Regions from separate parts of the Homo sapiens genome. Here region 2 is linked to region 1. Evidence: promoter capture Hi-C in 16 types of primary human blood cells and fetal thymus (Javierre and others, 2016). All regions are on one chromosome and are shown on one strand. The core of a region is centred on a gene start or on the middle of the fragment in contact, and the rest is flanking DNA. Distances in the headings are between cores, read along the strand shown. Region 1 holds the start of NXN (nucleoredoxin). Region 2 overlaps VPS53 (VPS53 subunit of GARP complex).

Region 1 (4,364 bases), core at 585-3,084:
TTTCCCAATATGAAATTTACAAACTGCATCGGATCAACTGTATTTCATACTTTAAATCTCGAATCTCTACCTCCCACTGCTTCGGGATGGATGATTTACTCAAGACATTTGGGGTCACAGTGTAAGCCTTTTGCTCCCAGTAAATCTAAATCATGCTTCTCAACAAGATTCTGCACATATAAAAGGAACACGTGGCACGCCTCGCCATGCTCCCCAGAGGAAACTAAACGCCCCCAGAATAGCCCTTCTGTCCACTCCAGAAACAGGCTTTCCTCAAAAAGGGAAAGGGGCTGGATTCACACGTTGCATCATATACACTCACGAAGCAACAGCGCTCCAAAACTTTTTCTGACTCCATTCATTACAAAATGTCCTGGATGTGCTTTATTATCACAGAGACAGACATCCTCACCCAAGGGACACACTCAGAAACCCAAACTCAACTCGGCAGCAAACTGGGAGACACGAGAAGTTGACAGCAAAGTATCCATTTCCCCAAATCCTCCTTCTTCCAGTCAATGTGCATCGATGGGGTCAGCTCAGCCCTTAACTCGAAGACCCCGGGACCACAGGGGCCACCACGCAGCTGAGCTCTGCACAGCCCGGGCTGTTCCCGCGCCCGGGAGGCGTCTGGGGAGGAGGCTGGACGGCCAGACAATGCAAAGCTCCCCGGTGGCCGCGAACTCAGCCTGGGGCGGGGGAGGCGGGGGCGGGAGACGGAGCCGTGAGCGCCCTTCTCGGCCACAGCCACGGCCACGGTCACCGGCCGCCTCTCCTGACCTCGGCCTCGGCCCCCAGGTCCCCGGTCCCCGGGGAAGGGGCTCCGGGAAGGCAGGTTTCTCCCGGAAAGAAAGGAAACGCGCTGGTTTGGGCGCCACGGGCGGGGGGCGTGCGCCCTCCCCTCCCCTCCCCTCCCCACTGTGGGAATCCGCGGGGGTCGGCGGCGGAGGCAGGAAGGGCCTGGCGCCTCTGCTCGCGGGTGAAGGGGTCGCGGAACCGGGATCCCCGAGCGCAGCCGCCCCCACCCGAGGCTCCCAGCGTGTGCGGACGGAGGGGCTCGAGCCGGGATCCCGGGGGCCGAGGGGGGTCCAACTTTCCAGGGCGGGCGCAGCGCAGCACTCGAACCAAAGAGGGGTCCTGGGATGAGGGTGCGGGCACAGCGCGGAAGGGGGGGGGGCAGAGGCGGGGACGGCGGGGTGGGGGGCGGGGAGAGGACAGTGGGTCGGGGGGCGGGGGACTGGGGGCAGGGGTCGGGGGGTGGAGGGCGGGCAGGGGGACAACGGGGTTGGCGGAGGGCAGGGGTAACGGGCGTGGGGGGCGGGCAGGGGTAACGGGCGTGGGGGGCGGGCAGGGGCCGGCGAGGCCCGCGCCGCTCACCTTCCTGTGCTTCTCCTTGTAGGGCAGCGCCAGCCACGGCATGTCCCGCACGAAGTCCTGCCACTGCCGCTGGTCCTGGTCCGAGGACACGAAGACGATCTCCAGGCGCCGCCGCGGCTCGGGCTCCGCCGCCGCCCCGGCCCCCGCTCCCGGCCCCGGCCCGGCCGCCGCGTCCCCCCGCAGGCGCCCGTAGAAGGCGGCCAGGCTGGCGCTGAGCTGCGCGCAGGGGGCGCTGAGGCTGCAGCCGAAGTAGAGACCCAGCAGCGAGATGCCGCGGGCGCCCAGCGAGTGCACGTCCACCTCCTCGCCGCCGCCCGTCACCAGCTTCTCGCCGAGCAGCTCCTCCAGGAAGCCCGACATCCTGGCCCACCGCAGGGCGGGCAGGCGGCTGCGACCCCGCTCCACGGTCCGCGCGGCGGGAGGAGGCGGCGGCGTCGGCGGCAGGCGCTGGGGAGAGCAGAGCCCGGCCCAGTAGGGCCGCCCACGCCACGCCCCCTCCGCCTGCCCGCGCCACGCCCCTTCCCCCGCCCTGCCACGCCCCCTCCGCGGCCCGCGCCACGCCCCTTCGGCTGCCCTCGCCACGCCCCTCCGCCCGCCCTCGCCACGCCCCCTCCGCCCTCGCCACGCCCCGTTTGCGGCCGGCGGTGGCCAGAGCTCTCCGCCCAGGCGGGGTCCGCAGCTGCCGGCCGCGGTGCGCGGGGTGACTGCTTGGGCGAGAAGCCGGACCCGAAACGCCGCACTCTCCCTGGAAAGCCCACGGCCGAAGTGAAGAAAGGAGAAGGGCCCGCTGAGCCGGCGCTTTCCCGGGCTGCAGCCCGGCCCGCATTTTCTCTCCTCCCCAGTTCTAAATTCCCTCCAGACCTCCAGGGATCCCGCCCCCTCCCCGCGGAGCTCTTCACCCTCTTCCTGTTCCTCCCCGGCCTTTCCCTCCTCCTCTCCCTGCACGAAGCCTGACCCTTAGGCCGCTCCGGGCCCCACTGACCCTGAGATGCTTATAGGACCCGCCGTCCTCACTGCATCAGGCCGGGCCTGGCTGGACACTGACTCCTCTGTGTGTTCCAAGCTGTTCTAAGGGGGCCGAGGACGCCCTCGCAGCTTCTGGTGGGGTCTGGTTAGGGTGCCAGGTCTCAGTGTGGGATTTCCGTCCAGGGGTCGCCGGGGCCTCTCCCCCCAGCGAATCTGTCTTCCAGCCCCACAAATGGATGCAAAGGACGCCGCGGGGCCTCCAGACCAATGCTGGCCGCGCTCCTGAATCCGCTCCATCCTCATGTCAAGTCTATGGATAGTTGAGAACATTTCTAGAGATTTTTTTTTTCCTACCAGCTGGCAGGATGCTCCCCAATGCTTAGGGAGAAGCTGGATTAAACAGGTGGTCTGGGCCGGGCGCGGTGGCTCACGCCTGAATTCCCAGCACTTTGGGAGGCCGAGGTGGGTGGATCACAAGGTCAGGAGTTCGAGACCAGCCTGGCCAATATGGTGACACCCCCCCCCCGCCTCTACTAAAAATACAAAAATTAGCGGGGTGTAGTGGCAGGCACCTGTAATCCGAGCAACTCAGGAGGCTGAGGTAGGAGAATGGCGTGAAGCCGGGAGACGGAGGCTGCAGTGAGCCGAGATCGCTCCATTGCACTCCAGCCTGGGCAACAGAGCAAGACTCCGTCTCAAAAAAAACAAAAAAACAGGTGGTCCGTGGCGAGTACTCTGGCCACGCAGCGCCTCCCCCCAACCCAACCCACTGGTGCACGAAGCAGGTGCAGATCCGGGCCCAGCCACAGTAACAGGCCGCCGGTGTGGATCAGCTACTGACGACTCAGCGAAAGCAAAAAAATAAAAGCTGAAAACCCGCCCCTCTCAGAGCTTCCACCGCCGCTTCGGAGGATATTTCCTGTGCATCCATCGCCACCTAATGGAAAGAGTGAAAAATGAGGCCGACCAAACTCCATTTGTGAAAAGACACTGCCGGGACACCAGGCACAATGCTTTTATTTTACAGCAGCTTTCCACATACACAAATGATAGGACGCTTTGCGGGAGCTAATTTAAACCTCAGAATAGAACTTCAAGCTTTTGGCACAAAACGTAAGTGTTCACATCGAAGGTTCTCCGTTTTTCTAGGGTAGAATAAGGAATGGTGCAGGGTTCCAGCTTGGTGAAATGTTACCATATAAAACAATTGGGAGAGGTGGAGATGGGAGCGGAAAGTGGACTGGCGTCTCTACAAGTTATATCCACTTCCTTAGTCACCTGCTGGTATTGCTAATGACACAGGTAAGATCTTAGATGGAGGACCGCCTTCGAACACCCTAGAATCCTACTGCAAAGTCGAATTCCACCTTAATTCTCAGGAGACTTTCATGCTGAAAGTCTGTGCCACTGTAGGGACAATATTATAAAACACACACAGAAAGCATCACTTTTTAGTGAAAACTTTATTTATTTATTTATTTATTTATTTATTTATTTTGAGACAGTGTGGGCGGCAGGCCACCCAGGCGCTGAGGCAAGAGACCGAGGACACAAGCCGTTCCAGTGTAATAAAATATAAAATAAGAATAGTTATACCAGATATAGATCTTAGATAGGCTTATATATGAATATCATTAATCATTAGTTTGTAGCAATTACTCTTTATTCCCATATTATAATGATCCTCGCTCTATAATCATAATCTAGGGAAAACCAGGCCATACAGAGATAGGAGCTGAGGGGACATAGTGAGGAGTGACCAGAAGACAAGAGTGCGAGCCTTCTGTTATGCCCAGACAGGGCTACCAGAGGGCTCCTTGGTCTAGCGGTAACACCAGCGTCTGGGAAGACACCCGTGGCCAGGCGGACTGTGGTGTAGCGGTAGCGTAAGTGTCAAGGAAAAACACCCGCTACTTAGCAGACCGGGAAAGGGAGTCTCCCTTTCCCCGGGGGGAGTTTAGAGAAGACTCTACTCCTCCACCTCTTGTGGAGGGCCTGACTGCAGGTTCGCCCACAATTAT
Region 2 (4,364 bases), core at 800-3,299, 420 kb before region 1:
AGAATCTGAGCAACAAGGAATTGGAAAATAAAATTTAAAAGCAACACCAATAATACATCATTATTGGTTCATTAATTGTAACAAATATTTCATATCAATGTTAATAATATGGGAAACTGGGTAAGTGGTATATGGGAACCATACAAACGATCTTTGCAATTTTTCTGTAAATGTAAAAGTATCCTTAAAAGTGTAGTTTATGTTTTTTAAAAACTATTTACAATAGCAATTCATAACATCGTTCTGTGGTTTGATTGTGTTCTCCAAAGTTTATGGGTTATAAGCTTAATCCCTGAAGCCACAGTGTTGAGAGGTATGAGGTCATGAGGGCTCTGGCATCATCATGGGTTAATGCCATTATCTCAGGAGTGGGCTCTTTTATTCCTTCAAGAGATCTTTATTAAGCACTTATTACGTACCAGGCATTGTATTTGGTGCTAATGAACAGAGGTGAACAAAGTAGACTTTCTGGCATGTAACTTAAAACTAATGGGGGCGCCAGATAATAAGGAAGTAAGCCAGCCGAGACGTAACTTCGGTTTTGTGGTGTTAGGAAATAAATTTGGCAGTGCTGGAATAAGGGAGCTACCTACTGAAGGGGGGTGGCCAGGAGGGCCTCTCTGCTGAAGGGGGGTGGCCAGGAGGGGCTCTCTGAGGAGGTGATACTGAAGCGGGGACCTGAGGCTTGGGGAATGAGACTGCCAAGTGAGAAGCCACCACACCCGGCTAATTTTTGTATTCTTTTAGTAGAGACGGGGTTTTGCCATGTTGACGAGACTGGTCTTAAACTCCTGACCTCAAGTGATCCACCCTCCTCAGCCTCCCAAAGTGCTGGGATTATAGGCATGAGCCACCGCGCCCCCACTCTTCTGGAAGCTCTGAGGAAAAAACTATTTACACCTCTCTTCTAGCTTTGGGTGTTTGCTGGCAATCCTTGATGTTCCTTGGCTCATAGAAGTCTGACTCCAGCCTCTGCCTCCTTCTCACGGCCTTCTTCCCTGTATCTCTGTGTGTTCAATCTCTCTCTCCTTTCTAAGGACAACAGTCATTAGATAAGGCCCCCCACCAATCCTAAATCCAGGACCATCTCATCTTGAGATACTTAATTACATTTACCAAGATAAAGTCACATTTACATGTCCCAAGGCCTAGGACTTGGACATATTTTGGGGTTGGGGGGACACTTCAACCCACTATATCTCCCTGGGTCCTCTTGAGATGACACTAATAGTCTTTGATATTTTTCTTGCTTTTTGTGTAACATGATGTTCTGATTCATCTTGTAGATTTCCTGCCCTTGACCTGGAATTAGTCATTTCTCCAGGAATCTCTGGTTTCTTTTAGTGGAAAATTGTATTTAGAGATCACAATAAAGGTGCTAAGAATGTATTACTTTTGTAATCAATAAAAACAATTTTCACTAAATAAAAAATAATTGGCCACTTGTATCATCAGTCATCAAAATGGTCTTCAACTTATTTCTAGAACTTCTAAGAGTCTGTTCTAGAAAACTAATGCAAAACATTTAAGATGCTATATTCAGAAAGACATTCTTTGTAAGGATTATCTTTTTTTTTTTTTTTTTTTTTAGAGACAGGGTCTCACTCTGTCACCCAGGCTGGAGTGCAGTGGTGTGATCATAGCTCACTGCAGCTTTGACCTCCCAGGCTCAAGCGATCCTCCAACCTCAGCTTCCCAAGTAGCTGAGACCACAGGCATGTACCACCACACTCAACTAACTTTTAAATTTTTTGTAAAGACCAGGTCTCACTATGTTACCCAGGCTGGTCTTGGACTATTGGCCTCAAGCGATCCTTCCACCTTGGCTTCCCAATATGCTAGGATTACAGGCGTGAGCCACTGTACCCTGCCAGGATTATCTATAAAAGCAAAATTTTGGCTGGGCATGGTGGCTCACGCCTATAATCCCAGCACTTTGGAAGGCCAAGGTGAGTGGATCACGAGGTCAGGAGATTGAGACCATCCTGGCTAACACAGTGAAACCCCGTCTCTACTAAAAATACAAAAAATTAGCTGTGTGTGGTAGCGGGTGCCTGTAGTCCCAGCTACTCACAGTGGCTCACGTCTGTAATCCCAGCACTTTGGGAGGCCAAGACGGGCAGATCACAAGATCAGGAGATCGAGACTATCCTGGCTAACACAGTGAAACCCGGCCTCTACTAAAAATAAAAAAAAATTAGCCAGGCGTGGTGATGGGAACCCGTAGTCCCAGCTACTCGCGAGGCTGAGGCAGGAGAATGGCGAGAACCCGGCAGGGGGAGCTTGCAGTGAGCCGAGATCGTGCCACTGCACTCCAGCCTGGGTGACAGAGAGAGACTCTGTTTCAAAAAAAAAGCAAAATTTGAAGCACTATAAACAACGATCAGGGATGCTTGCTAAATAAGTTATGGTACAAGGCCGGGCACAGGGGCTCACACCTGTAATCCCAGCACTTTGGGAGGCCAAGGCAGGTGGATCACAAGGTCAAGAGTTGGAGATCAGCCTGGCCAAGATGGTGAAACCCCATCTCTACTAAAAAAAAAAAAAAAATACAAAAATTAGCCGGGGATGGTGATGGGCATCTATAATCCCAGCTACTCAGGAGGCTGAGGCAGAAGAATTGCTTGAACCTGGGAGGTGGAGGCTGCAATGAGCCAAGATCATGGCCACTGCACTCCAGCCTGGAAGACAGAGCAAGACTCTGTCTCAAAATAAATAAATAAATAAATAATTTATGGTATAGTCCCTTAAAGAGAAATATTATGTGGCCATAAACAATGATAGTAATAATGACCCTGTAATGATAGTTATGATTATTACTATCATTATAATGACAGGAGAAATGCTAATGCTATGTATGACACTAACAATAAAAGGATATAACAGTGAATTAAGATTGTAACATTCAAAACTATGTCTATGAATAACAATTGAAAAAATACCCCAAATTGCTAATATGATTATTTGAGGATGATGGGATTAAAAGGGATCTTTATTTTTTTAAATACTACGGTTATTTTACCTTTAAAATAGCATATTTACATGTATCGTATTTCTTTCTGTGCACACCCAAAATAGTTAAACAGTGTTTCTTCATGAAAGAACTCTGGAACCCCTGCCTTGGAGGTCCTTACAGATAGTGCCATCTTACCTGGGGAGTGGCCTGGGGCTAAACGGACTGCTCTGTGGCTCCAAGGCCAAACCCTGGAAGGTCATGACCTTCGCAACTCAACATGACCAGGTCCCCAGGCAGAGTGTGCTGCTGCCTCTGCCTCTGGCTGGCTTATGTGCCACTGAGGGGCCTTGGTAGACACACTTCCTATTTGACCTGCTATATTGCTGCCCTGGCACACAGGAGCTCCAAGCTGGGCTGTCTGAACTATCATTTATGACTGTCTTCTTGTGGTCTAGGCATCTGTAAATTATAAATACAAAGTGGGTAGAAGAGCAGAACCTTTCCAAATTACTTTCTTTCTCTTGGCCTCAGGGGAATCCCAGACCAAGTGTGAAAAGGACTTCTAATTCCATGTTTAAGGCTGAATCAAAGGTTATTCTGGGTCTTCCTTCTGCTCCATCAGTTGCTGAACTATGGCCATGTGGGGGCCTCCAGCAGAGGCATCACCCTTTCCTGTCCCCCAGTTCCTAAACGTCAGCATCCCAAACAATGGCTATTTGTTGAGGCAGATTGAAAATGCCATGTAAATTTCAGAAGACACATAAAAGCCCAAAGGATTCTGCTTAACTTAGTAACACTTCTGAGCATGGAATAACTGGCTGTGACTCATCATCACCAAAGGCTGGGTCCTAGCACAGACAAGCTTGTTACTGCTTTTCTCATATGGGTTGGAGTGCTACTGACCTACTTTTAACAGGTCATGCCCTTTGAGGAGCTTACACAACTCCAGGGAGGTGACCAGTCATACTTTCTTGCCCAGTCTTCTTTTAACAAGGCCTTTCTGTAAGACAGCTGCCTGGGCAGCCTTATGGCTGGACACTGAGCTTTCCTCTGTGGCAGGCCAACTGGTCTGACCCAAGGTTGTCTGTGGCCATGTTAGGACGTATATTCTTACTCGCCGAGCGACGCAGCCCAGAGGGTTCAGGAAAAGGAGGTGGTGAGTGGGCAGCCAGGATGGCTCACCTGCTGGGTGGTGGCCAGACAGTACTCTGCCGTGCTCAGGATGTTACAGATGAGGCAGAGCTCCTCCAGAGTGAACTTGGCTACTTCTGAGCCCTCCTTTTCCTTGAGGAGGCTGCTGATAGTCAGTCCTCCACTGCTGGTTGTGGTTCTGAAGAAAAGGAACAGGAACAAGTCAGCATGGAATTTCTAATTTGCTTCCTGAACTGGAAACTACATTATTTTAAGA

What was found. Contacts are between HindIII fragments. The CHiCAGO score rates a contact against its expected background, and 5 or more counts as called.
Region 2: a contact is called between a fragment that was not itself captured here and the fragment with the promoter of NXN in region 1, in 1 of 17 cell types (M2 macrophages). The highest score is 5.7, in M2 macrophages.

Annotation. Positions count from the first base shown.
Region 1 is chr17:977,942-982,305 of GRCh38, forward strand. NXN (nucleoredoxin) reads right to left here and starts at 1,835. Exons shown (of 8, transcript NM_022463.5): 1 at 1,378-1,835. The coding sequence starts at 1,737. RefSeq lists enhancers at 748-1,683, 3,108-3,402. The HindIII fragment of the contact is 5,276 bases long and covers 1-3,439 here.
Region 2 is chr17:556,288-560,651 of GRCh38, forward strand. It overlaps VPS53 (VPS53 subunit of GARP complex), which reads right to left. Exons shown (of 22, transcript NM_001128159.3): 15 at 4,139-4,286. It overlaps LOC124903891 (a long non-coding RNA gene), which reads left to right. Exons shown (of 2, transcript XR_007065571.1): 2 at 1-53. Among named protein-coding and RNA genes, the nearest start is that of VPS53-AS1, 36 kb to the left of the region's middle. RefSeq lists an enhancer at 3,714-4,364. The HindIII fragment of the contact is 3,534 bases long and covers 283-3,816 here.